Linked DNA regions of Homo sapiens: region 1 is linked to region 2. The links are contacts of gene promoters, found by promoter capture Hi-C in blood cells and fetal thymus (Javierre and others, 2016). All regions are on one chromosome and are shown on one strand. The core of a region is centred on a gene start or on the middle of the fragment in contact, and the rest is flanking DNA. Distances in the headings are between cores, read along the strand shown. Region 1 overlaps RHOT1 (ras homolog family member T1). Region 2 holds the start of ZNF207 (zinc finger protein 207).

What was found. Contacts are between HindIII fragments. The CHiCAGO score rates a contact against its expected background, and 5 or more counts as called.
Region 1: a fragment that was not itself captured here is called in contact with the fragment with the promoter of ZNF207 in region 2 in 4 of 17 cell types (erythroblasts, M0 macrophages, monocytes and 1 more); the score reaches 6.9 in erythroblasts.

The regions. Positions count from the first base shown.
Region 1 is chr17:32,222,817-32,226,428 of GRCh38, forward strand. RHOT1 (ras homolog family member T1) reads left to right here. Exons shown (of 20, transcript NM_001033566.3): 20 at 1,800-2,911. The coding sequence ends at 1,917. Among named protein-coding and RNA genes, the nearest start is that of RHBDL3, 41 kb to the right of the region's middle. The HindIII fragment of the contact is 6,005 bases long and covers 1-3,612 here.
Region 2 is chr17:32,347,988-32,351,727 of GRCh38, forward strand. ZNF207 (zinc finger protein 207) reads left to right here and starts at 2,170. Exons shown (of 12, transcript NM_001098507.2): 1 at 2,170-2,339. The coding sequence starts at 2,299. MIR632 (microRNA 632) reads left to right here and starts at 2,122; the gene lies at 2,122-2,215. It also overlaps a transcript of C17orf75 not described here. RefSeq lists enhancers at 1,620-1,739, 1,910-2,259. The HindIII fragment of the contact is 13,651 bases long and covers 1-3,740 here.

The DNA.
Region 1 (3,612 bases), core at 345-2,844, 130 kb before region 2:
ATTACTCACCAGGTGCATGCTGTCAGCTCTGTAGAAGATTCCATCTTCATGGAGTCATCTCATGGTCCACTTTTTCTTGAAGCCAGGTAACATTTCCAATGGGTTGGCCTCGTTGGAGTTTTTCCAGCTTGAAAAACCTAAGCATTTTCTTCTCTGACTTTTTTTTTAATAAAATGCTGCCTGTTGGAAAAACTAACTTGCAAGCTGGAATGAACCTGTGATATCACTTTGCTTTGTAAGAAATAATTATGTGAGGAGTGATTTTTTTTTTTTAAATAGAAACTGGTGAGGGTGAGAATTGGAGTGTTGTGTCTTGCTTTGTTGTGTTAAGCATGGAGCACTCTGGCTTGTGTTGTAGACTTTTGTTTCTAGGGATGTACAGACTATTTTGTGATAACTAATCTGTTCTCTTTGACTATTACTGAGGCAAAGTAGTTTTGTGCAGTTTGAATTCTTGGCTCTTAACTCTTTTGCATATGTCAGTGCCTTGGTCTTTTAATGATATCTGACTTTTGCTTCAAATCTGTTTAACTTAGTTATAAAATAACCTAAACTAGACAGTCTCTCTAAGCTCTTAATTTTGTAAGTTTTCTTTTCTTTCTTTTTTTTTTTTTTTGCGATAGAGTCTCACTCTGTCACCCAGGCTGGAGTGCAGTGGCACCGTGTCGGCTCACTGCAAACTCCGTCTTCTAGGTTCAAGCAATTCTCCTGCCTCAGCCTCCCAAGTAGCTGGGATTACAGGCACCCACCACCATGCCCGGCCACTTTTTATATTTTTAGTAGAGACGGGGTTTCACCATGTTGGCCAGGCCAGTCTCGAACTCCTGACCTCAGGTGATCCACCCGCCTCAGCCTCCGAAGTGCTGGGATTACAGGCATGAGCCACTGCACCCGGCCAATTTTTTAAGTTTTCTACATCATCTCAATTGTGTTCACTTAGTAACTAAGACTTCAGTGACATTTAAATAAAATGTTCTGACCTTTTCTTTAGAGCTTTATCCTCTTCATGGTAAGCTGTCATACTTGAGACTCTTGAGGGTACTTACTGAGCATGCTCACAACTCAGTTTGTGGTACAGGCTGTCCCTGTTCTTGTCATGCATACTATGGCTTATTTTATGTCATTGCCTTTCAATCCATCACATTACGTTATGTCTGTTAGTTGGTATCATTATCACTGCCTGTCTAACACCAGGGATTGGTTTTTTTCTCTTTAATTAGCAGTAACCAAATTAATGCAAACTGATAAATCTTCCCCTCCCCCTTCGGGTTTTTTGGGGGGTTTTTTGTAAATTTTTATGAGGCTCAGTGTTTCCAAAGTTGACTTTAATCATTTCTCTTAGAAAAGTATTGTCACTTGTCACTTAACTGCTTACAAAATAGCTTTCAGTTCCTGGGGATAGGAGATTGCACATTATTTAACCATGAATATGATCCTCAAAATTGTGGGAACACCGCCTTAATTTTCATTTTGAACAACCGTAACGGTATTATAAAATGCTAGATTGATTTGTCTAACTTCTTTATTTCCTGTGTGAAAAAAAGTTTACAAATTTAGATGTCTACTCCCACAAAGTAGCTAATTGTCTTTATTAGTATCTACATTGTGTCATTTTCTTAAAGTAATGATTAAGTAATTATATATATGGCTATATTGATCAATGTTTTTGATAAGCATTACTGTATGCAGTTAGCTTGACAAGTGTGCTAATACTTCCCTAAAAGTAGACTGCTAAATAACTGGTATAGGGTTTTCATACTAATCATGTTTTAAATAATAATTATATTTTCTGACTGCAGGCACGTGACACAAGCTGACCTCAAGAGCTCCACGTTTTGGCTTCGAGCAAGTTTTGGTGCTACTGTTTTTGCAGTTTTGGGCTTTGCTATGTACAAAGCATTATTGAAACAGCGATGATATAAAAAGAAATACTGTCCCTACCAAAAACAAATACTTTTATGTACATTCTGAATGCTTTAAGTTCTGCTAGAATTATTGAGATATTTATACATGCAGAGTTACTTTATTAATATTTGTAATTCATGCATAAGAGTATTTTAATGATAGTTATAACTGCAGTATTGGCTAGCATATGGAAAGAAAACAGCTAACAGCCAAACTAAAATGGCTAAATTCCAGAGGCCAAAAGGGAATATTTTGTAAATATATGTACATATTCAGGCAAGATATGGTCTCCCAAGCTGAGTTCTAGAAATGATGTTTCTAGACATTTCTAAGTGGTATTGTTAGTGCTCACTTGGCTCACTCTTCTAGGTTTAAGTTAGCCCAGAGATTGTATTTACTCATGGATCACTTTATTTATTTCACATTTACTCAGAATGATCCTTTGGGTTCTATAAGGACATAAGGTACAATTTGCCATTGTCTCTCCATTTTTAAAAACATACAAGTCAGTGTCAGCTTACCAACATGACATTTTTTCAGTCAGTTGTGGTAGGCCAGCCTTGAAGCCATCGCACAGTCTAGAAACTTGTGTAGCTGAGTGTGCAGCTCACCTTTAAGGGTGAAGTTAGGTAAAAGCAATTAGCAGAGGCGTTATCTATGTGATTATGTTGCTTCCTTGTCAGTATGTTGAATTTTATAGCCCTTTCAATGAAATAAAAAAAAAATTTGTATATTACCAATGTTTTTAGTTTAAATAAAGAGTCACCCTTACTACTGTTGAATTTCATCCCAAGTGTAAATCATTCTATAATGGCTGTGTCTGTTATAGTATATTACAGTAACTGCATGTGTCACCAAGTGTTCTATATCAGGCTAGGATAACCTAGAGGCAGTAATTTTTTAAATGATAAAATAAATCTAATGAATATAAACTCTCATGATAAACCTATTTTTTCCATCATCAGCCTTTTCAAGTATTTAAATAAATAACTGCTGTGTACTGTGATCTTGAGTTCTTTTGTCATCTAAAGTAAATATTTCTGTACAGATGTGAGTGAAGTCCTCTGGTTTCTATCTCTCATATTGAAAATTATTCTGTATAAAAGGAATACTCAGCCGGGAGTGGTGGCTCAATCGTGTAATCCCAGCACTTTGGGAGGCCGAGGTGGGTGGATCACCTGAGGTCAGGAGTTTGAGACCAGCCTGACCAACATGGTGAAACCCTGTCTCTACTAAATAAAAAAAATTAGCTGGGCATGGTGGCGCATGCCTGTAATCCCAGCTACTTGGGAGGCTGAGGCAGGAGAATCGTTTGAACCTGGGAGGAGGTGGAGATTGCAGTGAGCCAAGATCACGCCATTGCACTCCAGCCTGGGCAACAAGAGTGAAAGTATACCTCAAAAAAAAAAAAAAAAAAAACTTATTAGGAAAAAAGTCAAGTATGATTTATATATGTAAGAGGAAATTTATTTAAAAGTTGTAGAGAAATCTATTCTGGTAAAAGGCCAATTGTTTTCCCTACACATAGCTAATTAATGTGGTTTCTGCTATTGTTTGCATGTTTATTTTCTCCTTTAACATGATTTTTCCTCTTTGCCATTCTGAGGGACATTTTCTTACAAGATCACACTTCTTGAGCAACTAGTAACAGTATAGCTTACTAGCTGGCAAAATAACATGACACTTCATTTGTTATTTGTTATTTTT
Region 2 (3,740 bases), core at 920-3,419:
GCTTGAGCAACTGCACCCAGCCTGAACTTTTTTTTTTTTTTTCTTTTTGAGACAGAGTCTTGCTCTGTCGCCCGGACTGGAGTGCAGCAGAGTGATCTCGGCTCACTGCAGCCTCCGCCTCCCGGGTTCAAGCGATTCTCCTGCCTCAGCCTCCGGAGTAGCTGGGATTACAGGCGTGCCCCACCACGCCTGGCTAATTTTTTTTTGGTATTTTTAGTAAAGACCGGGTTTCACCATGTTGGCCAGGCTGGTCTTCAACTCCTGATCTCAGGTGATCCACCCGCCTCAGCCTCCCACAGTGCTGGGATTACAGGTGTGAGCCACTGCGCACAGCCCAAACTGATCCTTTAAAATTCAAATTTAATTCAGCTCCACACATACTTTGTGTTTTGGGGCAAATTATTCCAGCTCTCTTAAGTCTCTTTTATCTCATCTCTATTAACAAGTTGACAATAATGGCTCCTACCCCAGAGGCTGAGACAAATAATGTTAAAACTCACTACAATGCTTGGCACACGGTAGGTGCTCCATGGATGTCTGCTATTATTTTTTGCTTTTAATAGTAACATAATTTACATTACTAGTTATTATTATATGCTAAGCTCTGTTTTAAGTGCAGCCAAGATGAAGTTTAACTGCCTTGCCCAAAGTCAGGCAGCTAAGCAGTGGCACTGGTGGACTATGAACCCAAGCACTGGACTTTTAACCACCTCTCACTTGCATGATCCTCCAGTTGCCCTCTTAGAACCACTGTGCCTTCTCAGAGACTTCAGCTGAAATCCAACTTCTGAGAATGCTTCTAGGGTTCGCCAGAACCCGCCTTTGCTAGCCTCCCTAGGATTATCTCTTGTGACCAGCACCTTCACTGACAGCTCCAGTCTTTTTTTTTTTTTTTTGAGACGGAGTCTCACTCTGTCACCCAGGCTGGAATGCAATGGCGAGATCTCGGCTCACTGCAACCTTCACCTCCCAGGTCCAAGTGATTCTCCTGCCTCATTCTCCCGAGTAGCTGAGGTTACAGGCGCCTGCCACTACGCCTGGCTAATTTTTGTATTTTTAGTAGAGACAGGGTTTCACCATGTCGGCCAGGCTGGTCTCGAACTCCTGACCTCAAGTGATCCGCCTGCCTCGGCCTTGGCCCATAGTGTTGGGATTACTGGCGTGAGCAACCGCGCCCGGCTATCAGCTCCAGTCTTACCACGATTAGTTTTTCACGTGCCCAGCCTCAAAGACTTAAACTCTTTGCTCCCTTACGGAGATACCCTTTCCTTCACCTTGCTTGCTCCCGTTGACTCCTCAAGAAACCTTTCTTATGTCGGGCGCAGCGGCTCAAGCCTGCAATCCAGCACTTTGGGAGGCCGAGGCGGGCGGATCACTTGAGCCCAGGAGTTCGAGACCAGCCTCGCTAACATGGTGAAACCCCATTCTACTAAAAATACAAAAATTAGCCGGGCTTGGTGGCGCGGGCCTGCAGTCCCAGCTACTCGGGAGGCTGAGGTAGGAGAATCGCTTGAACCCGGGAGACGGAGGTTGCAGTGAGCAGAGATCGCGCCGCTGCACTCCAGCCTGGGAGACAGAGCGAGACTTGGTCTCAGAAAAATAAAACAAAACAAAGAAAAACAAAACTTTACTTGACAACCCAACGACCACTACCACTACAGCCGCCCTAGGACTCCCGCTCTCTGAGGTCCTACAGCACTTCGCATTTCCCTCAACGCCGCACTGAGAACTCTGCATTGTGTACTCGTCTGTCACCAATCTGCGAGTTACAAAGCAGAGACTAACTTATTTGGTTTAGCATTTAATAGGCACATAATCAACATTTACTGTTCAATTGAAACAAAATTAAAATTGGGCGCTGTCTCTATCTTTATTTGTGATCGGCCCTAACTGCACTGGCAATCTTTTCCGTTTTTTTGTTTTCTGTTTTCCATTCGCATGCCCCTTAGCGTACCTGGGGCTCCGGCTCCTTTACAAATGAAACCCAAAGTGCTCCGCAAGCACAGCCAGCGAAAGCGAAAAACTCTGAAACGGACAAGATGGCTGCCACCTCTTCGCGCCTCTTAGTCCCACCCACTCAGGGCGGAGGTCTGCGTCATGTGACCCTCCCCTTCTTGGCTCCGCCTCCTACCGCAGTGCTTGACGGGAGGCGGAGCGGGGAACGAGGCCGTCGGCCATTTTGTGTCTGCTTCCTGTGGGACGTGGTGGTAGCCGTTGGGTTGGGAAAGTGAGGGATTTTTGGCCTCGTTTCTCCTGCTTCTTTTCTCCTCCCTTTTACTTTGCCGGTAGAACACAGTTATGGGTCGCAAGAAGAAGAAGCAGCTGAAGCCGTGGTGCTGGTATCCTTTGTCGGTTTGAAGTCGAGGTCGCGTTGGGGTGCCGGTTGTTGGGGCCTGGGACTAGGAGGCCTGGATTTGGCTTACGGCGTGGAGCGTTTGTATTTAGGCGTCTGCGTGGGTGGCCTGGTGGCTGGGATTGGACTTGGGAAGGCTTCTAGGAAAATGGGGTTCCGAGGTCGACAGGCTTTTGCAGTTGTGGGTCGTGTGACTCTGTGACTCAGGAGGATCTTGTTCGGTGCGAATTTTGGACTCCGGGAGGCGGCCTGGACCCCTCCGCCAGGGACAGTGTCCCCTAGGGACTATTCAGCCACCTTCCGTTGTTTTGGTGACGATTCAACAAGGGACTTTTCTTCGAGTGCGATAGGCTTATTACTTTCATGGAGGGTTGGGGACAGCTTCACAGTCTGTCACCCACTTTTTCTGTTTTTATTTACTTTATGTGTGTTTTGTGTTTATTTTTTCGAATTGGCGGTTTAGTAAAGAACCAAGTTAGTCAACCCTGGTTTCGAACCTTTTTTTTTTTTTTTTTCTTTTCGGGGCGGGAGGAGAACTAGCTTCCGTGTCTCACCCAGAGGCGCCTTAATCTTCAGGAAGCGTTCTCACAGGGCGGAGTTTCTGTTACCCAACTTTGTAGGACTAAAAAGTGCCTATCTTATTAGGAAAACTCTTACTACAGTGTGGTATTAATGCTTTTTCTGGAAGCGTTAATATTCTTTACATTAAAATTGATTTTATTTACTGTTTTGTACGTAAAGGCGGCTTGTTACAGTACTGCGTTTATGTAACAGTTTTAAAAATAGCTTAAATACGGTTACGAATTTTGTAATGTGATTTTAGGAAAATCTGAGTAGTGAGGTAAGAATTCTGTTTTATTGATGTAAGAATTCTGCTTTATTGATTTTATTGATCTGTGAATTTAAATACATTGCTTGGCAACATAAATTCATACGGAATTGGAAACAACTTTATGGATTGTTCATTCGAAATTATGTGATTATTGTTCACCATATAGTTACTCTTAGATTCTAAATATTGCTAAATTCCTAATCCAGTTATTGCTATCGTCTTCATATCTAGTGAAGTAATTGTCTTGACAGAACCTTAGGGATTTCTTAACTGAACTCTTTCCTGTCCTCAGTGTGCATTTGTAAATGTTGAAATATTTATAACAAAAGTTTCACCGACATCTCTGTTAAACACAGGAATTTGACAAAGTATATTGCTGATTATTGAGATGTGTTTTTTGGGGTGGTGAAGAGAGCTGGCCTTCTAGGAAATTGAAAATACTGAAATAACATGGCAAGTGTAGTCCCTAATTGTGTAATAAATATAAAAAGCAGAGTTTCTATACAGTACCATTTTGGTTTTAGCTGTTCCCATATTGTAATGTTATCCATATGT